2 separate regions of the Homo sapiens genome follow, and region 2 is linked to region 1. The links are contacts of gene promoters, found by promoter capture Hi-C in blood cells and fetal thymus (Javierre and others, 2016). All regions are on one chromosome and are shown on one strand. Each heading gives the region's core, a stretch centred on a gene start or on the middle of the fragment in contact. The rest is flanking DNA. Distances are from core to core; before and after follow the strand shown. Region 1 holds the start of MGST2 (microsomal glutathione S-transferase 2). Region 2 holds the start of TBC1D9-AS1 (TBC1D9 antisense RNA 1).

The links. Contacts are between HindIII fragments. The CHiCAGO score rates a contact against its expected background, and 5 or more counts as called.
Region 2: the fragment with the promoter of TBC1D9-AS1 here is called in contact with the fragment with the promoter of MGST2 in region 1 in 9 of 17 cell types (monocytes, M1 macrophages, total B cells and 6 more); the score reaches 18.2 in monocytes.

Annotation. Positions count from the first base shown.
Region 1 is chr4:139,664,008-139,667,622 of GRCh38, reverse strand. MGST2 (microsomal glutathione S-transferase 2) reads right to left here and starts at 1,804. Exons shown (of 5, transcript NM_002413.5): 1 at 1,546-1,804. The coding sequence starts at 1,603. RefSeq lists enhancers at 1,580-1,749, 1,046-2,245. The HindIII fragment of the contact is 3,780 bases long and covers 1-3,154 here.
Region 2 is chr4:140,710,630-140,714,244 of GRCh38, reverse strand. It overlaps TBC1D9-AS1 (TBC1D9 antisense RNA 1), which reads right to left and starts at 2,077. Exons shown (of 2, transcript XR_007058283.1): 1 at 1,962-2,077. The region is part of intron 1 of TBC1D9 (TBC1 domain family member 9); the gene reads left to right. The HindIII fragment of the contact is 8,622 bases long and covers 1-3,231 here.

The DNA.
Region 1 (3,615 bases), core at 555-3,054:
CTCCCAAAGTACTCGGATTACAGGGGTGAGCCACCGTGCCCGGCCCTAACACCTTGTCATTAAACATTCCCTGTCCACCATTAATCATCATTCACCCAGTCTCCTCTCCTCTCTCCCCACCCCTACCCCCACTCCATCCAGCCCCCTAACATTCTGGCCCCAGTTCACACAGCCCCCTGCACAAGCAGCAAACAGGGAGGATGAGCACCTCTGTCAGCTTTGGGACATCTGTGGACCTGCAGGCCTAGGATAAAGGCGCATGCAGGTTTGGTAGCACCTGTGAGTCAGGATGCTACCAACAGTGAGCCTTAGACCTGCTAAATTAGGTTTAGCCTAAAGCTGCCTTCTGACATATTTTAAGTTCAGCCTAAAGGTTTCTCCGTACATCGTGAACTATATGCTTCCGTTTTCTGGGAGTCGCTTTCCTTTTTCTGTCCATAAATCTTCTTCTACCACGTGGCAGCCCCAGAGTCTCTCTGAACCTATTCCGGTTCCCCATGCCCAACTGTGAATCGTTCTTTGCTCAATTAAACTCAGTTAAATGTAATTTGTCTAGGGTTTTCCTTTTAACAGATCTAAGTGCTTCTTTAATTAGAAACAAATATCCTGCTCTTCTCCACAACAGATTGTGTGAATCAAACCACAAAACGTGAGTCTGAAGGTTCAAGATCTTCATACAATCTCAAAACAGACTGGCTAGGCAAGACATTGAGCATGCACGGAGGCCTGGACTGGATCCTCAGCTGTGAGGCCTTCCTGCTTCTGGCTGTTTGTGTAACCTGAGCAGTCTACGGCTTGGCCCTATTTCCTGGTACAGGCATACTTGGAAATATAAAGAAATATGCATGCTTGGTAAGAAGTCTTGCACTCTTGCACTCGGACCCCTTTCCCCAGCTGACATTGTAGGTAAGATAATATGAATTGAGCAAATGTGACTCCCATGGAGTAAAAGCCCTCTATTTAACCAGGCAGTCGAGATATTGAATAATCCTAGTGGGAAGCTGTTTTAAAATTTAGAGCTAATTACTTAATCTAAAGCTAATATTTCTGAAGGAAGTTTTTTTCAATCTGATAATCATACCACCATAGGCAGTTTATTTAAGAAAACACATTAATTAAAACATCAACGTTCAAGAAATCACAACCAGGTTTAGAAGCAGGCACGTTTCCTTTGGAACACTTGTAATTAATATTCACACCACTTCCTGCAGGTTAGCAGGCTACTAACGCTCGTTTGAACGGGCTGTGGGTCGTAATCACAGATGATGCAGAATCGCTGAGCTCTGAGGCCCCACAGCGTTCCAGTTGGGAGAACTAATCTCTGGAATGTTCTCAGTCTCTGCTTGCCCCTGGGAAGGAGGGTAGCAGGCGGCATGGGTGACCCTGAGGCGACTGTGCTCTGAGGACCCAGAGCTACCTGCAAGGGCAAGTAGGAAACAAAACACCGGACCCATCTCCCTCCCTCCCTCTCTCTCCCGCAAGCCTTGTCACACACACACACACACGCACACACGCGCACACACACGAACTTCCCATGCCTCTTACTTTGCTGACAGGCCGAGAGAATAGAGACAGCAGCCAGCAGGATCGAGTTCCCGGCCATCTTTCTCACGGAACTATTTGTAGAGCGCACGGGAAGATAAATGGCGCTTCTTGACTTTGAATGCTGACCTTCCTTATCGGGTAAACAAAGTTGGGGACCGGGTGGGGGGAAAAGGCTGATTCAAGCGGCTGAATGACCTTTGCTCTGGAACAGAAGTCAGGAAGGCAGGCAGGTCTGGGGCTGCCGGTCACAGATCTTTATGGGGCTGGGAGTTGCTTCCGGCGTTTGTTTTAAGCCTCTCCCACGGCCAGCGGGCAGGGCTGTAGCTCACTGTGGGACCAGCCCTCCAGCCGCAGTGCCAGTTACACTATCTTCTCTGCCAATGCACAGACTCTCTGGATCCCTTTCATCCCCACGCCCTTCCCTCCTAGGGCCTTGCTGAGACCTTTCTCACCTCCTGTGGAAAAAGTGAGAAGGAACTACTTACTTAATCCTGTTGACATTTTAAATGCTAATTTAAGCCAGTTCTAATGTATTCACGCTCTGAATGGCCGATTTAGGATTTGAACCCAGTCTAGCAGATTACAACTGTGCCCTATCCCCTGCACCAGGCTGCCTCTCACTGTCACCTAGAGACTCTGATAATAATCATACTTTTTTTTTTTAAGACAGGGTCTTGATCTGTCACCCAGGCTGGAGTGTGTGGTGGCACGATCATAGCTCACTGCAGCCTCCAACTCTTGGGCTTAAGTAATCCTCCTGCCTCAGCCTCCCAAGTAGCTAGAACTACAGCCACAAGTCACTGTGCCCAGCCATTTTTAAAAAAATAAACCGGCCGGGCGCGATGGCTCACACTTGTAATCCCAGCACTTTAAGAGGCCAAGGAGGGTGAATCACGAGGTCAGGAGATCAAGACTATCCTGGCTAACACAGTAAAACCCCTTCTCTACTAAAAATACAAAAAATCAGCTGGGCATGGTGGCACGAACCTGTAGTCCCAGCTACGCAGGAGGCTGAGGCAGGAGAATCTGCTCTTTAGAGATGCAGATTCTGGCCTGGAAGGATGGCTCATGCCTGTAATCCCAACAGTTTGGGAGGCTGAAATGGGCAGATGGTTTGAGCTCAGGAGTTCGAGACCAGCCTGGGTAACATGGCAAAACCCCATCTCTTAAAGAAATACAAAAATTAGCAGGGCATGGTGGCACGTGCCTGTAGTCCCAGCTACTTAGGGGGCTGAGGCAAGGGGATTGCTTGAACCCAGGAGCCTGAGACTGCAGTGAGCCAAGGTCGTTCCACTGCACTTCAGCCTGGGTGACAAAGTGAGACCCTGTCTCAAACAAATAATAAAAATAAAGATGCAGCTTCCCAAAAACCAGAGCTGGGGGCCTTTCCTCACCCCATCCTACAGCACCATTAGAGGGTATATCTTGGCTCAAGCTGCTATAACAAAGATACCATAGACTGGGTGGCTTACAATAGCAATTTATTCGTCACAGTCCTGAAGGCTGGGAAGTCCAAGATGACAGTGCTGGCCAATCAGTTCCTGGTGAGGGCCCTCTTCCTGGTTTGCAGAAGGACACCTTCATGTTGGAGACAGAGAAAGAGTAAGCTTCCTGGTCACTTCTTATAAGGGCACAGATCCCATTATGGGGGCCTATGCTCATAACCTCACCTGTAGCTAATTATCTGCCAAATGCCTGATAACATCACGTTGGGGGTTAGGGTCTCAACATATGAATTGCAGAGGGGACACAAACATTTAGTCCCTAGCAGGGAGCTCCCAGTGTCTTCTGGGGAGGGCAGTTGCCTCAGCCTCACACAGACCCTACAATTTAATAACACAACCTTGGGCCTCTCTGAGCCTCCATTTAATAAGATAGGGCTAATAAGAGCTGAAGAGAAGTTTAAATGACATAATCCTATTCTAAGGATTGAATTAGTTAATACTTATAGAGCACTTAAAACAGCACCTGGCATATACAAATGTGTTCTGTGTGTCTGCAAAATAAACACATAAAGTATCTAGACAAGTACTTAGCATATAATGTACCTAATGTTAAAAAATACTTTCA
Region 2 (3,615 bases), core at 828-3,327, 1.0 Mb before region 1:
ACACTCATATTTGGCTCAGAATAAACCTCTTTAAATATTTTACAGAGCTTGACTCTTTTTTGCCAACAAGGGAAGTGGCTCATCTTTTCATCCTAGGCCACGTTTTAGCCTTGTGTGTTTGCACTAATCAAAGTCCCTGGTGAAAGGCTGCACAAGGTTGCCTTATTCTGTATCATCTTGCATTCACCTCTTCAGCCCCCCAGGCTAATATTATGCCAAGGGTTACCGATTCTGATTTTTGCCAGTGACCTTTACAGAAAGCAGCAGGAGCTGATTGGTTAAGTGGCTTCATCATTTACAAACTCTTATAGTAGGATCTTTAATGTTTCATTGATCCTATAGTATTAAAAACTGCAATTACTTTTGCACCAACCTAGTGGTTCATTATTTGATTATAATACATGTACATTGTACAAATTATAAAAGTACAATGTTTTATAGTGTATAGTTCCAATAGTATAGAAATTACTTTAAAAAATATAGTTTTTTTTTTTTAATTCTTTTTCAGAGATAGGGTCTCACTCTGTCTCCCAGGCTGAAGTGCAGGGTGTGGTCTTAACTCACTGCACCCTCTACCTCCTGGGCTCAAGTGATCCTCCTGCCTCAGTCTCCCAAGTAGCTGGAACTACAGGCATGCACCACTACACCTTGCTTAATTTTTAATATTTTTTTTGTAGAGACAAAGTCTTAATTATTGCCCAGGCTGTCTCAGACTCCTGGGCTCAAGTGGTCTTCCCACCTTGGCCTCCCAAAGTCCTGGGATTACAGTCCACTGTACCTGGCCTAAAAATATATTTCAAATAATAAAAAATGTTTCTGATTTCTGCCATATCAATCTCATTCCCAAGAGGTAACCATTATTAAGTTTAATATGCATCTTTCCTGGCATTTCCTTTGTTAATATAAGCACAGAGTGGCTGGTCTCCTGGGCTTTTTTCTTTGTCTTGCTTATATGTAGCTGAAGGCAACACCATGGGTACTTAGAGATTTAATGAATACTCAGTGGAAGGCCCATGAGGCGGCTCACACCTGTAATCCCAGTGCTTTGGGAGGCCAAAGTGGGAGGATCCCTTGAGCCCAGGAGTTGTAGACCAGCCTGGGCAACGTAATGAGACCCCCATTTCTATAAAAAAATTTAAAAATTAACCTCAAGACTCAGACCTTAGTTATAGATTAAAAGAAGTTAATCACCTATGTCTTTAGATGAATGCACACTTACATGTAGACATATAGCTTAGAAGGTATATAAGCTCTGGAAAACTGTAATTTTGAGTTGGTCTGGTGATAATTTCCAGGCCTTCTCCCTGTAACCGGTTGCAGAAATAAAAACTTTCTTCCTCCCCAGTTCATTTGCATCTCGTTATTAGGCCATGAGAAATAGCAGCCCGACCCTCAGTTTGTTCCGGAAACAATCATGCCACTGCATTCCAGCATGGGCAACAGAGCAGGATCCCATTTATCTATCTATCTATCTATCTATCTATCTATCTATCTATTTTTTTGAGATGGAGTCTCACTCTCTTGCCCGGGCTGGAGTACAATGGCGTGATCTCGGCTTCACTGCAACCTCCGCCTCCCGGGTTCAAGCAATTCTCCTGCCTCAGCCTCCTGAGTAGCTGGGACAACAGGCGCCCGCCACTACGCCTAGCTAATTTTTTGTATTTTTAGTAGAGATGGGCTTTCACCATGTTGGCTAGGCTGGTCTCGAACTCTTGACCTCGTGATTTGCCCGCCTGGGCCTCCCAAAGTGCTGGGATTACAGGCCTGAGCCACCGCACCTGGCATATATATATATTCTTTTTTTTTAAAGAGCATATTCAGAGAATACTTGATAAAAATGGTAAAATCAATTTGATTCATTTTGACACTGTAAACTTCCTGACTTGAGATAAACTAGTTATTAAACATCAAGTGCCTGCAACTGGAGTAAGGAATGTGATTCAGTGTGTATGAATACGTACCAGTTTGTAGCATTGATGAACTCCGTATACCAGAGGGAAAAAATGAACTTCAAAAAAAAATTTCTAAAATGTAAACGCCAGGTCCCTCTCCAAGGAAGTGTGTTTTTGAGGGAGCCTCTCATTTAGATATGGACTCTTAGCTAGCATGTTGCAACCTAGCAACAAGATTTCTAACCTGTGGTTATCTGTTGTGAAGTAGCAGCGTTAGTATAACCATGGTAACTGTCTGTTTGCTTGATGGCATGAGCTCTCTTTGAGTAAAAAAAGCCCAAAATAAAAGGTTGGAGGTAATTATATATTTTTTGTTTTCTCATCATAAATGTATTGAATGTACATTTGAGATATTTTTGAAAACACAGAAGACCATAAAATAGCAGAATTGTCATCTCACCTACTAATGTTAATATTCATATTTAGTTTTGTATTCTTTAAAATTAATACATGTATTGTAATTTGTAATATAGGTTATATTATACTTTTTTAGACAAATTGGGATCATACAGAATAGTAATTAGTTTTGTGCTGTTTTTCATATGCTAGGTGCATTTCACCATGTCATGAAATAATTACTTGAAGGTATGATTTTAAATGTCTACATATTATATCAATGTACTATAATTTATTTAGACATTGTAGGTCATTACCTAAATGTAATTTTGAATTCAGAATTATTTCTATTTCATATTATTTCGTTGCCAAGTTGTTCTTCAGCTTATCGATGCTCTCAATTATTGGCAGTTGAATTACGTAAGAGGATACATGAATTAGAAGAAGGGTTGACATCTCAGGACAGTGAGTGGCTTCTGCAAATGTGGCCTTCCTGAGAGAAGGGATCTGAGGGGTATTGCCCCCAGGTATCCAGGAGGGGATTGATATAGCTAATCTCTTAGAAACAGAGGTGGGCTTCATAGCGATGAACTCTTCCTACCACACCAAAAAGGCCCCTCCTTCCTACCTCTCAAGGTTGACCTTGGCTGACCTTGACCTTTGAGTTTTAGGTTTTCAGACCCGCCTCTACAGCCAAGATTAGAATCAATATAACTTCCTGTTGCACACAGAAGCAGCTGTAAATCTAAGACAATAGCATCCACTTTCCTATTACGGGACTTGAGGGGAAATTAAATTAAGCCCCCGCCTTTTGAGGGGCTTCTTTGAGGAATTAGATCACACAAGGCTTGGCGTAATTTTTTAATAACTTCAATCACATTGTCCTCACTGGTCCGTATCAGAGCAGATTTGAGTCCTGCACAAAGTCTGAAAGCAGCAAGCTTGTTCGTGGGGAAAGAATGAGCCAACACACTGCTGGGGTTTCAAGGCCAGCTTCCTAGGTATGCTTGTACACAGGAACCTACACTTAGAAAAGCGCTGGGCTTGGCTTAATATTCTACTGCTGCTGCCTTGAAATTCTGAAGAATTTTTTAACAAGGGGTCCTGAATATTCTTTTTGCACTGGGCCCCACAGATTATGTAGTTGGTCCTGATTAGGGTGTAGAGCAAGGTATTGCAGTAATAAAGTATTTGAATCATTCCTTCCTCAGACCACCCCCCCACCCAGGAGAAGGAAAAATCCATTCCAACTGTTCTCACTTTATGCAGGAGCAGGTGCTTGTGACTTTAAGAGATGGGCTTGCAGGGGAAATGGAACAGCTCCTGG